Regions from separate parts of the Homo sapiens genome. Here regions 2, 3, 4 and 5 are each linked to region 1. The links are contacts of gene promoters, found by promoter capture Hi-C in human tissues and cell types (Jung and others, 2019). All regions are on one chromosome and are shown on one strand. The core of a region is centred on a gene start or on the middle of the fragment in contact, and the rest is flanking DNA. Distances in the headings are between cores, read along the strand shown.

Region 1 (2,686 bases), core at 48-2,547:
CTCCTTGTGACCCAGGACAACCGGCCAGAGCCAATGCAGCTCCCTGTCCTGCTTAGTTGAGCCAGTTCAGCATTGGGAAGCTTACCCAGGGAAAGACTGATGGATGTATTTCACTCAATTGCCAGCCTGTAGAGGCTATAAATGCCTTCTGGTGTTTGTGGACACCTTTATTGGGTGGGTTAAAGCCTTTCCTACAAGAACAGAAAAGGCCCAGGAAGTAGCCAAGGTACTTCTTAAAAAAAAAAAAAAAATCATCCCGGCCGGGCGTGGTGGCTCACTTCTGTAATCTCAGCACTTTGGGAGGCCGAGGCAGGCGGATCACGAGGTCAGAGAATTGAGACCATCCTGGCTAACACAGTGAAATCCTGTCTCTACTAAAAAAGAGAAAAAATTAGGTGGGTGTGGTAGCGGGCGCCTATAGTCCCAGCTACTCAGGAGGCTGAGGCAGAAGAATGGTGTGAACCCGGGAGGTGGAGCTTGTGGTGAGCTGAGATTGTGCCACTGCACTCCAGCCTGGACAACAGAGCGAGACTCCGTCTCAAAAACAAAAAGAAAAAAAAAATCACCCCTCAGTGTGGGTTTAGTTTGTGTTTACAAAGTGACAACGGCCCAGTTTTTATTTCACGCACCCTTTAATTAGTGACAAAAGCCCTAGAAATAAAGTACTCCTAGCACTCCTGGAGAACACATTCCTCTGGCAAGGTAGAAAGCACTAATCAAACTATTAAAAGGACCCTGAACAAAGTGTGCCAGGAAACCTCCTCACCATGGTTAGAACTCCTGTCCGTAGCACTGTTCTGAGCATGACCCCTAATATTACTTATGCCTTCCTACATGCAGACCTAATGTTAGATCCAGAAGTTACCCAATTAATCAAATACATAACATCACTGGCCCAATTTCAACAAGCCATCCAGGAGTTTGAGCAAAAGGTACTGCCTGCCACTGACCCCTCCAGTAATCAACCCTTATACTAGCCAGGGTCACAAGTCCTCATCAAAACCTGGAGAGATGGGTCACCCAGGTCTCAACTAGCCTGGGTCTCTCCTTTATGGAAAGGCCCCTTTATTACTTTCTACCCCGACAGCTATCAAAGTTTCTGGAATCTCTAGTTGGATACATCACTCCTGAGTAAAACTGTGAGAAGGTCCCGAAGAACCAACAACAGAATCAGCATCTGAGTAGTCTCATGAGCCAGCCACTGGAGAGCTTCCAATTCCTCTTCAAGTGAAAAGATAAGTAAAGCCTTCTCTCCTTTCACCTCAAAAAAAGGTCTCTCAGTACGGGGAATCTTGGTTGCGGTGGCATCGGTTCTTCTCCTTATTTTGACCCACACTGGCATGCCACCTGAAGTCCCGATAACAGCCTGATTTCTCACTAAACACTCCATCGAACCATTTCATTATTTGTCTCTCCTATTTTCAGCACTTTCCTTTTGCTTTCACAAAGCTTAAGGGAGAATCAGCTATGACAGAGAAATTCCTTTTCCTTTATCTTTCCCTCCTTCCCATGCCCCTACTCTCACAGGCACAGTGGAATGAAAATTCCCTTGTCAGTTTTTCCAAAATAATTGCTTCGGGAAACCATCTAAGCAACTGTTGGATCTGCCACAACTTCATCACCAGGTCCTCATCTTACCAATATATTTTGGTAAGAAATTTTTCTTTAAACCTAACATTTGGTTCAGGAATCCCTGAAGGCCAACATAAATCTGTTCCGCTCCAGGTTTCGCTTGCTAACTCAGCGCACCAAGTCCCCTGCCTGGATCTCACTCCACCTTTCAATCAAAGCTCTAAAACTTCTTTCTATTTCTACAACTGCTCTTCTCTAAACCAAACCTGTTGTCCATGCCCTGAAGGACACTGTGACAGGAAGAACACCTCTGAGGAGGGATTCCCCAGTCCCACCATCCATCCCATGAGCTTCTCCCCAGCAGGCTGCCACCCTAACTTGACTCACTGGTGTCCAGCTAAACAAATGAACGATTATCGAGACAAGTCACCCCAAAACCGCTGTGCAGCTTGGGAAGGAAAAGAGCTAATCACATGGAGGGTTCTATATTTGCTTCCCAAGGCACACACTGTCCCCACATGGCCAAAATCTACTGTTCCCCTGGGAGGGCCTCTATCCCCTGCATGCAATCAAACTATTCCAGCAGGGTGGAAATCGCAGTTACACAAGTGGTTCGACAGCCACATCCCCCGGTGGGCCTGTACCCCTCCTGGCTATGTATTTTTATGTGGGCCACAAAAAAATAAACTGCCCTTTGATGGAAGTCCTAAGATAACTTATTCAACCCCCCCTGTGGCAAACCTCTACACTTGCATTAATAACATCCAACATACGGGAGAATGTGCTGTGGGACTTTTGGGACCACGGGGGATAGGTGTGACCATTTATAACACCACCCAACCCAGACAGAAAAGAGCTCTGGGTCTAATACTGGCAGGGATGGGTGCGGCCATAGGAATGATCGCCCCATGGGGAGGGTTCACTTATCATGATGTCACCCTCAGAAATCTCTCCAGACAAATAGACAACATAGCTAAGAGTACCAGAGATAGCATCTCTAAACTCAAGGCCTCCATAGATTCTCTAGCAAATGTAGTCATGAACAACAGATTGGCCTTAGATTACCTCTTAGCAGAGCAGGGTGGAGTCTGTGCAGTGATCAGTAAATCCTGTT
Region 2 (2,686 bases), core at 109-2,608, 480 kb after region 1:
AGTCAAGCTTCATCCTATGCAAAACATAGGAGAATTCATACAGGAGAGAAACCTCACGTGTGATGATTGTGGCAAAGCCTTTACTTCACGTTCACACCTCCTTAGACATCAGAGAATGCACACTGGACGGAAATCTTACAAATGTCATCAGTGTGGCAAGGTTTTCAGTCTGACTTCACTCCTTGCAGAATATCAGAAAATTCATTTTGAGATAATTGTTCCAAATGCAATGAGTAGAGCAAACCATCAAGCAGTAATTGACATTAAAGTGTTTATGTTAAGAGGATTGGGCCAGGTACAGTGTCTCACACCTGTAATCCCAGCACTTTGGGAGGCCAAGGCGGGTAGATCACTTGAGGTCAGGAGTTTCAGATCAGTCTGGCCAACAAACATGAGCCACTTTTCCCAGTTTGCTTTTTGTTCTTTAACAAAAACTGATAGGGATTTTTATGGGTACCGTGTTGAATCTAAATCACATTGGGTTATATAATCATTTAACAATATTAATTTTTCCAATCCATCAATATGGGTTATATGTCTGTATATGTTTTTAATCATATTGATGTATATTTGTAGATTTCAAGGTACAAACTTCTCACCTTTTTACTTTTATTTCTATTTCTTTAAGTTCTCTAGCAAATGGAAGTGTTTTTAAATTTTCTTTTAAAATTGTTTATTGTTACAAACTTCTCATCTTTTTGCTTTTATTCCTAAGTATTTCTTACTTTAAGTTCTCTAGCAAATGGAAGTGTTTTTAAATTTTCTTTTAAAATTGTTTATTGTTAATGTATGGAAATTCAGCTAATTTTTGGTGCTGATATTGTACTGTGCAGATACACTGAATCTGTTTATTACTTCCAGTAGTATTTTGGTTGAGTCTTTGTGATTTTCTACACAGAAGATCATGTCATCTACAAACACATATAATTTTACTTCTTTCTTTCTGATTTGGATGGGTTTGATTTCTTTTGCTATTTCATTGCTCTGGCTAGGACAGCCAGTATTTATTGAATAGAAGGGGTGAGAGCATTCTTCCATCATGTGAGATCCTACAGGAAAATCATTCCATGTTCCCTGCTTCGTTATCTACTCGTTGGTCATTTCATGGATGGCCTTTCTATTGTTGAGGTAAATTTCCTTTTCTGTCTATTTTGTTCAGAATTTCTATGATGAGTGGATTTTGAATTTTGTGAAATACTTTTTCTCCATCTATTGAGATGATGTGGTTTTCATCTTTCATTCTGTTCAAGTGGCATATCACATTGATTTGCTTGACTATGTTGAACCATCCTTGCATCCCAGAAATAAGTGGCACTTGAGTATCTACAGTCCTTTTTACATCCTCTTGAATACAGCTTTTTAGTACAAGGGGTCTTCAAGAAGTTCATGGAAAAATACATATTTTGCATATTATGAGAAAATTGTGTATGAATTTCCCAGTTTTTGCACCAAAATAAACTGGTACGAATCTGTTATGTCTGAACAGGTCCTAGTTTGAGGCACCCAGAAGGATAAGACATGAGTTTTAAAAGAGACTTTCTCTGCCGGGCGCAGTGGCTCATGCCTGTAATCCCAACACTTTGGGAGGCCAAGGTGGGTGGATCACCTGAGATCCAGAGTTCGAGACCAGCCTCACCAACATGGAGAAACAGCATCTCTACTAAAAATACAAAATTAGCCAGGCATGGTGGCAAATGCCTGTAATCCCAGATACTCTGGAGGCTGAGGCAGGAGAATGGCTTGAACCCGGGAGGCAGAGATTGCTGTGAGCCGAGATTGCACCATTGCACTCCAGCCTGGTCAACAAGAGCGAAACTCTGTCTCAAAAAAAAAAAAAAGAAAAGAAAAGAAAAGAGACTCTATCAAAGCAATATAAATCCTGCTAAAATTGAAACAAAAAGGAGCATCAAATTTACAGTGAGACCAGATGCAGTGGCTCAGGCCTGTAATCCCAGCACTTTCAGAGGCCAAGACAGGTGGGTCATGTAAGCCCAGGTATTCAAGACAAGCCTGGGCAACATGGTGAAACCCCCTTGTCTACAAAAAATACAAAAATTAGCTGGGCACGGTAGCACATGCATGCAGGGCCAGCTGCTGTGGAGTCTGTGGTAGGAGGATAGCTCGAGCCTGGGAGGTTGAGGCTGCAGTGAGCTATGATCATGCCACTGCATTCCAGCATGGGTGATGGAGCGAGATACTGGCTCAAAAAAAAAAATACTTCTTGTAAAGTTTGGGTAGAGGAATAATGAAATCATTGATGCTTTATGAAAAGATTATGGAGATGATGCCCAGAAGAAATAAACAGTTTGTAAATGGATAACTTAGTTTGAGTTGGGACAAGACAATGTTGAAGGTGATGCATGGAGTGGCAGGCACACCATCCACATCAGTTTTTTTGTTTGTTTTTGTTGTTGTTGTTTTTTTGAGATGGTGTCTCGCTCTGTCTCCCAGGCTGGAATGCAGTGGTGCAATCTCGGCTCACTGCAACCTCTGCCTCCCGGGTTCAAGTGATTCTCCTGTCTCTGCCTCCTTAGTAGCTGGGACTACAGGCGCGTGCCACCACATCAGCTAATTTTTGTATTTTTAGTAAGACGGGGTTTCACCATGTTGGCAAGGCTGGTCTTGAACTCCTGACCTCACGATCTGCCCACCTCAGCCTCCCAAAGTGTGGAGATTACAGGCATGA
Region 3 (2,686 bases), core at 132-2,631, 370 kb after region 1:
TTATATTGTGTGCTGGTGGTAAGTAGAAGTTGTGCTTTTTTCTTAACAGGGAATTGTTTAGAATTCTGCAGTTTGTATAAATGTACTTATGATTTGCTTGCTGGTTTTATGCGTTACAGTTATTTTACCAATTCATTTTTATGATTTTACATAAAGCTTTTCGGTATGTGGTATGCAATATAACTGACACAGTTTACTAGTTAATGTCACAAAGTGCCAGCGGGTGCTGTGGCTCACGCCTGCAATCCCAGGACTTTGGGAGGCTGAGGCGGGTGGATCACTTGAGGTCAAAAGTTCAAGGCCAGCCTGGCCAATATGATGTAACCCTATCTCTACTAAAAATACAAAAATTAGCCAAGCATGCTGGCATGTGCCTGTAATCCCATGTACTCAGGAGGCTGAGGCAGGAGAATGGCTTGAACCCAAAAGGTGGAGGTTGCAGTGAGCTGAGATCAGGCCATTGCCCTCCAGCCTGTTGTGACACAGTGAAACATTGTCTCAAAAATACAAAAATAAAAAAAAAATTTTAAATGTTACAATATGCCTTTTCTGCATGGATATAGGTAATTTTATGACAGTTATTCAGAAAAATATTTTTTTTTTTTTGAGATGGAGTCTCACTTTGTCATCCAGGCTGAAGTACAGTGGTGCGATCTCGGCTCACTGCAACCTCTGCCTCTTGGGTTCAAGCAATTCTTGTACCTCACCCTTGCGAGTAGCTGGGAGTACAGACGTGCACCACCATGCCTTGCTAAATTTTGTAAACTTTTCTTATCTTCTCAGTGCTATGATTATTTAACAATACAGAATTTCCATTGATTTTGGTTATCCTTACATGAGCTTGCTGTGGATTATTTACCAGTATATTATATTGTGTGGTCCTTTAGTATTTATTTGTATACAGTAAGTATGCTGTAAATATGAAGAATATATACTTTTCATTGATGTGACAGTGATATGTCTTTTGCAAACTGTTAGACACTTTAGGGTCACAGTGGAAAAATACTCCTTATTTTAGGCTTACACATGTTTGTGCCCTTCAGTGTTTTGTCATGATATTGGAAATAAGCTTTCATAATAATAATTTGAAGCACATGTAATCGCCCTTTATTTATTAAAGAATCTTACGATTTTGTGTTCCTAAACTTTGAAGATCATGTTTGGGAAGTTTAAAATCAGTATTGTCTTTTGTGTACCTATTAGTGTTTATATTTTGTAGGTATCTCTTCCAAATGCACAATGAAGGAGTTCTCATCAACAGCACAAGGCAATACAGAAGTGATCCACACAGGGACATTGCAAAGACATGAACGTCATCACATTGGAGATTTTTCCTTCCAGGAAATTGAGAAAGATATTCATAACTTTGAGTTTCAGTGGCAAGAAGATGAAAGAAATGGCCATGAAGCACCCATGACAAAAATCAAAAAATTGATGGGTAGTACAGAGCAATATGATCACAGGCATGCTGGAAACAAGCCTATTAAATATCAGCTTGGATCAAGCTTTCATTCACATCTGTCTGAACTCCACATATTTCAGCCCAAAGGGAAAATTAATAATCAAGTGGAGAAGTCTATCAACGATGCTTCCTCGGTTTCAACAGCCCAAAGAATTTCTTGTAGGCCCAAAACCCATATATCTAATAACTATGGGGATAATTTTCTGAATTATTCATTACTCACACAAAGACAGGAAGTACGCATGAGAGAAAAATCTTTCCAATGTATTGAGAGTGGCAAAGCCTTTAATTATAGCTCACTCTTAAGGAAACATCAGATTATTCATCTAGGAGAGAAACAATATAAATGTGATGTATGTGACAAGGTCTTTATTCGGAAGCGATACCTTGCACGCCATCGTAGATGTCACACTGGTGAGAAACCTTACAAGTGTAATGAGTGTGGCAAGTCCTTCAGTCAGATGTCATCCCTTACATATCATCATCGACTTCATACTGGAGAGAAACCTTACAAATGTGAAGAATGTGACAAAGCTTTCAGACACAATTCAGCCCTTCAAAGACATAGGAGAATTCATACTGGAGAGAAACCACATAAGTGTAATGAGTGTGGCAAGACCTTTAGTCAGAAGTCATACCTTGCATGCCATCGTAGCATTCATACTGGAAAGAAACCTTACGAATGTGAAGAATGTGACAAAGCTTTCAGTTTCAAATCAAACCTTGAAAGTCATAGGATAACTCATACTGGAGAGAAACCATACAAGTGTAATGATTGTGGCAAGACCTTCAGTCATATGTCAACCCTTACATGCCATCGTAGACTTCATACTGGAGAGAAACCTTACAAGTGTGAAGAATGTGATGAAGCTTTCCGTTTCAAATCAAGTCTTGAAAGACATAGGAGAATTCATAATGGAGAGAAACTGTACAAATGTAATGAGTGTGGCAAGACCTTCAGTCAGGAGTTATCCCTTACCTGCCATTGTAGACTTCATAGTGGAGAGAAACCTTGCAAGTGTGGAGAATGTGACAAGGCTTACAGTTTCAAATAAAATCTTGAAATACGTCAGAAAATTCATACTGGAGAGAAATGTTATAAGTGTAATGATTGTGGCAAGATCTTCAGTCATACGTCATCCATTGTATACCATCATAAATTTCATAGTGGAGAGAAACCTTACAAATGTGAAGAATGTGATGAAGCTTTCAGTTTCAAATCAA
Region 4 (2,686 bases), core at 104-2,603, 360 kb before region 1:
AGAATCATTACATTTGTAAAGTTTCCCTATACCATGGATTGCTTGATGATGAATAAGTGATGACTGCCCACTAAAGGCTTTGCCACACTCATTGCACTTATAAGGATTTTCTCCAGTATGAAGTCTATGATGGCATACAAAGGATGACATATGACTGAAGGTCTTGCCACACTCATTGCACTTGTAAGGTTTCTCTCCACTATGAAGTCTATAATGGTATACAAAGGATGACATATGACTGAAGGTCTTGCCACACTCATTACACCTGTAAGGTTTCTCTCCAGTATGAACTCTCTGATGTTGTGCAAGGTTTGACTGTTGATTAAAAACCTTGCCACATTCATTACACTTGTAAGGTTTCTCTCCAGTATGAATTGCCTTATGAATTAGAAGGGATGAATTTCGAGCAAAGGTCTTGCCACACTCATGACAGTTGTAAGGTTTTTCTCCGGTATGAAGTCTACGATGGCCCACAAGGGATGACTTCTGACTGAAGGTCTTGCCACACTCATTACACTTGTAAGGTTTCTCTCCAGTATGAAGCCTATAATGACATGCAAGGTGTGCTTTTTGATTAAAAACCTTACCACATTCATTACATGTGTAAGGTTTCTCTCCAGTATGAACTCTCTGATGTTGTGCAAGGTATGAATCACGCTGGAAAACCTTGCCACATTCATTACATGTGTAAGGTTTCTCTTCAGTATGAACTCTGTTATGGCGTGAAAGGCATGAATTATGCCTAAAAGCTTTGTCACAAACCTTACATTTGTATGGTTTCTCTCCAGTATGAATTCGCCTATGTGTTTCAAGTTGTGATCTGCAACTGTAAACTTTGTCACATCCTTCACATTTGTAAGGTTTCTCTCCAGTATGACGTCTACGATGCCCTACAAGGGATGACGTCTGACTGAAGGTCTTACCACACTCATTACACTTGTAAGGTTTTTCTCCAGTATGAAGTCTATGATGGCGTGTAAGAGATGACTTGTGACCGAAGGTCTTGGAACACTCATTACACTTGTAAGGTTTTTCTCCAGTATGAACTCTATGGTGCCATGCAAGGTATTGCTTTTGATGAAACACTTTGCCACATACATCACATTTATATTGTTTCTCTCCTGAATGGGTTACATGATGTCTTCTTAAATGTGAGCTATAATTAAAGGCTTTGCCACACTCATTACATTGGAAAGGTTTTTCTCTCATGTGTTCTTCCTGGATTTGTGTCAATAATGAAGAATGGAGAAAGTTCTTCCCATACCTATTAGAAATATGGGTTTTGAGCCTACAAGAAATTCTTTGGGATGTTGAAACCAAGGAAGCATTGTTGATAGACTTCTCCACTTGATTATCAATTTTCCCTTCAGTCTGAAATTCGTGCAGTTCAGGCAGATGTGAATAAAAGCTTGATCCAAGCTGATCTTTAATAGGCTTGTTTCCAGCATGCCTTTGATCACGTCGGTCTGTACTACCAGTCAACTTTTTGATTTTTGTCATGGGTGCTTCATGGCCATTTCTTTTAATTTCTTGCCACTGAAACTCAAAGTCATGAATATCTTTCTTGATTTCTGGGAAGCAAAAATCTCCAATGTGATGACTTTTATGTCTTTGCAATGTCCCTGTGTGGATCACTTCTCCTGTATTACCGTGCCCTGTTGATGAGAACTCCGTCATGGATTTTAAAGAGCTATCTAAAAAATATAAAGACCAATAGGTTTCCAATTAAGTACAGATGGTAAATAATATTTAATACTGAAATGTGTTAATATTACACAAAAAGCAATACTTATTTTAAAATTCCCAAATATGATCTTCAAAGTTTAAGAACACCCTGTCTCTATTAAAAATACAAAAATTAGCCAGGCATGGTGGTGGATGCCTGTAATCCCAGCTACTCAGGACGCTGAGGCAGGAGAATTTCTTGAACCTAGGAGGCAGAGATTGCAGTGAACAGAGATCACATCATTGCACTCCAGCCTGGGCAACAAGAGCAAAATTCCATGTCAAACAGAGTTCAGTCAAGAGCCTCATATATATGATGCAGTAAGCCTGAATGATGTCCTCCCTAAGAGGAATTTCTACAGCAGTGACTGCTGTTTAGAGAACATGATCATTAGTTTATGTGATGATCACTGTCACAGTACCAGTGAGAGATGCTTCTGTGATGCTCCTTAAAAACCAGAACAAAAGGCCAAGGGTGGTGGCTCAGGTTTGTAATCCCAACACTTGGCTAGAGGCTGAGGTGGGCAGATTGCTTGAGACAAGGAGTTTGAGACCAGCCTGGCCAACATGGTGATTCCCCATCTCTAATAAAAATACAAAAATTAGCAAGGCATGGTGACTTGCATCTGTAATTCCAGTTAGGTTGGGAGGCTGAGGTATGAGAATTGCTTGAATGCAGGAGGCGGAGGTTGCAATGAGCTGAGATCACAACAGTGCACTCCAGCCTGAGCAAGAGAGGGAGACTCTGTCTCAAAAAACAAAACAAAACAAAAGCAGAATCACAGCTGGAAACACTTGTCAGTCACTGTCATGCTTTCTAGCTCATCTCCTGGGCCACCCTGACAATTCTGCTCAGGGCTACCAGGGGCATCTCTGCTTAGAGCAGGATGACGTTCAATTCTATTAGTCAAAGTGTTCATGAATGTTCTGTTTTTATGTAAAACCACTCCATAGGATAGTC
Region 5 (2,686 bases), core at 102-2,601, 340 kb after region 1:
AAGCACACCTTGCATGTCATCATAGAATTCATACTGGAGAGAAACCTTACAAGTGTAATGAGTGTGGCAAAACCTTCCGTCACAATTCAGTCCTTGTAATTCATAAGACAATTCATACTGGAGAGAAACCTTACAAGTGTAATGAATGTGGCAAGGTTTTTAATCGAAAAGCAAAACTTGCACGTCATCATAGAATTCATACTGGAAAGAAACATTAGAAATATGAAGAATGTGACAAAGTTTACAGTTGTAAATCAAGTCTTGAAAGACAGGAGAATTCATACTGGAGAGAAAGCTTACAAATGTAAGAGTTTGTGACAAGAATCTTGGGCGTGATTCACACCTGGCCCAACAAACTAGAAGTCACACTGGAGAGAAACCTTACAAGTGTACTGAGTGTGGCAAAGCCTTTAGTGGGCAGTCAACACTTATTCACCATCAGGCAATCCATGGTATAGGGAAACTTTACTAATGTAATGATTATCACAAAGTCTTCAGTAACACTACAACCGTTTCAAATCATTGGAGAATCCATAATGAGAGATTTTGAAAGTGTAATAAATGTGGCAAATTTTTCAGACATTGTTCATACCTTGCAGTTCATCGGTGAACTCATGCTGGAGAGAAACCTTACAAATGTCATGATTGTGGCAAGGTCTTCAGTCTAGCTTCATCTTATGCAAAACAGGAGACTTCATACAGGAGACAAACTTCACAAGTATGATGATTGCAGCAAAGCCTTTACTTCACGTTCACACCTAATTAGACATCAGAGAATCCATACTGGACAGAAATCTTACAAATGTCATCAGTGTGGCAAGGTCTTCAGTCTGAGATCACCCCTTAAGGAACATCAGAAAATTCATTTTTGAGATGATTGTTCCAAATGCAATGAGTATAGCAAACCATCAAGCATTAATTGGCATTAGAGTCAATTCAGCATTGACTTGAGTTTGAATTGACTTAACATTGAGTTCAAGCATTAATTGACATTAAAGTGTTTATGTTAAGAAGATTGGGCCAGGCGGGGTGGCTCACGCCTGTAATCCCAGCACTTTGGGAGGCCAAGACCAATAGATCACTTGAGGTCAGGAGTTTGAGACCAGACTGGCCAACAGACATGAGTCACTTTTCCCACCCTGTATTTTGTTTCTTTAATAAAAACTGTTACGGGTTTTTATGGGTATCTGTTGAATCTAAATCACATTTGTTTGTATAATCATTCAACAATATTAAGACTTCCAATCCATCAATATGGGTTGTATGTCTATTTAGTTTTTTTGATCAATGTAGATTTCAAGGTACAAGCTTCTCACCTCCTTAATTCAGTTTATTTGTAAGTATTAAGTTTCATAGCAAATTGAAGTGTGTTCATAAGTTTCTTTAAACATTATTTATTGTTAATGTAAGGAAATTCAACTAATTTTGGGTGCTGATTTTGTATTCTGCAAATACATTGAGTGGGTTTATTAGTATCAGTAAAATCTTGGTTGATTCTTTGTGATTTTCTTTCTTTTTTTTTTGAGACAGTCTCACTCTGTTACCCAGGCTCTTTTCTTTTTTTTTGAGAAGGAGTCTCACTCTTGTCACTTGGACTGGAGTACAATGGCACGATCTTGGCTCACTGCAGCCTCTGCCTTTCGGGTTTAAGTGATTCTCCTGCCTACTAACTGAGATTACAGGTGCCTGCCACCATGTCCGTATAATTTTTTTGTATTTTTAGTAGAGACGGGGTTTCACCATGTTGACCAGGTTTTTCTTGAACTCCTGACTTCAGGTGATCCGCCCCCATCAGCATCCCAAAGTTCTGGGATTACAGGTGTGAGCCACCGCACCCAGCCAGTGATTTTCTATATAGAATGTCGTATCATCTACAAGGAAATAATTTTTTTTTTTGAGACAATGTCTCTCTCTGTCGCCAGGCTAGAGTGCCGTGGAATGATCTTTGCTCACTGCAACCTCTGTCTCCCACGTCCAAGCAATTCTGTCTCAGCCTCCTGAGTAGCTGGGACTACAGGCGCATGTCACCACACCTAGCTAATTTATTTATTTTTTTTATTTTAGTAAAGACGGGGTTTCACCATGTTGGCCCAGATGGTGGGCCAACATGGTGAGTACCTTGAAGAGAACTTGAAAGAATATGTTAGATCGCCTAACCTCATTATCCGCCCACTTCGGACTTGCAAATTGCTGGGATTATGGGTGTGAGCCATGAGCCCGGCCCCAACAAATGTAATTTTACTTCTGTCTTTCTGATTTGGATGAGTTTTATTTCTTTTGCTATTTAATTGCTCTGCCTAGGACAGCCAGTATTTATTGAATATCAGGGGTGAGAGCATTCTTGCATCATGTGATATCCTACAGGAAAACCATTCCATTTTCCTTCATTGGTTATTTCAGCTGTGGTCATTTCATGGATGATTTTTATATTTTTGAGGTAAAACTCTACCTATATTGTTTAGGATTTTTACGAAGAATGAATATTGAGTTCTGTGAAATGCTTTTTCTCTATCTATTGAGATAATGTGTTTTTTATCTGTCATTCTGTGCAAGTGTGTATCCCATTGATTTGAGTATGTTGAACCATCCTTGCATCCCATGAATAGGTAGCACTTGGATGTTTACAATCCCTTTTTATATCCTCTTGAATACAGTTTGCTAGTATAAGGGTCTTCAAGAAGTTCAT

The links. Contacts are between HindIII fragments. The study calls those that stand out against the background at their distance.
Region 2: a fragment that was not itself captured here is called in contact with the fragment with the promoter of ERVV-1 in region 1 in 4 of the 25 tissues and cell types used here (dorsolateral prefrontal cortex, mesenchymal stem cells, pancreas and 1 more).
Region 3: a fragment that was not itself captured here is called in contact with the fragment with the promoter of ERVV-1 in region 1 in 7 of the 25 tissues and cell types used here (bladder, dorsolateral prefrontal cortex, heart left ventricle and 4 more).
Region 4: a contact is called between a fragment that was not itself captured here and the fragment with the promoter of ERVV-1 in region 1, in 2 of the 25 tissues and cell types used here (dorsolateral prefrontal cortex and spleen).
Region 5: a contact is called between a fragment that was not itself captured here and the fragment with the promoter of ERVV-1 in region 1, in 4 of the 25 tissues and cell types used here (bladder, dorsolateral prefrontal cortex, mesenchymal stem cells and 1 more).

What each region holds. Positions count from the first base shown.
Region 1 is chr19:53,012,624-53,015,309 of GRCh38, forward strand. ERVV-1 (endogenous retrovirus group V member 1, envelope) reads left to right here and starts at 1,298. Exons shown (of 1, transcript NM_152473.3): 1 at 1,298-2,686. The coding sequence starts at 1,468. The region is part of intron 1 of LOC124904758 (a long non-coding RNA gene); the gene reads right to left. The HindIII fragment of the contact is 3,820 bases long and covers 1-2,306 here.
Region 2 is chr19:53,492,820-53,495,505 of GRCh38, forward strand. It overlaps ZNF813 (zinc finger protein 813), which reads left to right. Exons shown (of 4, transcript NM_001004301.4): 4 at 1-2,686. Among named protein-coding and RNA genes, the nearest start is that of ZNF813, 26 kb to the left of the region's middle. RefSeq lists an enhancer at 1-463. The HindIII fragment of the contact is 8,734 bases long and covers 1-2,686 here.
Region 3 is chr19:53,379,503-53,382,188 of GRCh38, forward strand. ZNF525 (zinc finger protein 525) reads left to right here. Exons shown (of 4, transcript NM_001348156.2): 4 at 1,220-2,686. The coding sequence ends at 2,517. Among named protein-coding and RNA genes, the nearest start is that of ZNF765, 14 kb to the right of the region's middle. The HindIII fragment of the contact is 5,110 bases long and covers 1-2,686 here.
Region 4 is chr19:52,652,710-52,655,395 of GRCh38, forward strand. It overlaps LOC122539214 (Zinc finger protein LOC122539214), which reads right to left. Exons shown (of 4, transcript NM_001396016.1): 4 at 1-1,694. It also overlaps a transcript of ZNF83 not described here. Among named protein-coding and RNA genes, the nearest start is that of ZNF83, 16 kb to the left of the region's middle. The HindIII fragment of the contact is 5,670 bases long and covers 1-2,686 here.
Region 5 is chr19:53,353,371-53,356,056 of GRCh38, forward strand. ZNF845 (zinc finger protein 845) reads left to right here. Exons shown (of 4, transcript NM_138374.3): 4 at 1-2,686. The coding sequence ends at 218. It also overlaps the pseudogene LOC107987264. Among named protein-coding and RNA genes, the nearest start is that of ZNF525, 11 kb to the right of the region's middle. The HindIII fragment of the contact is 6,579 bases long and covers 1-2,686 here.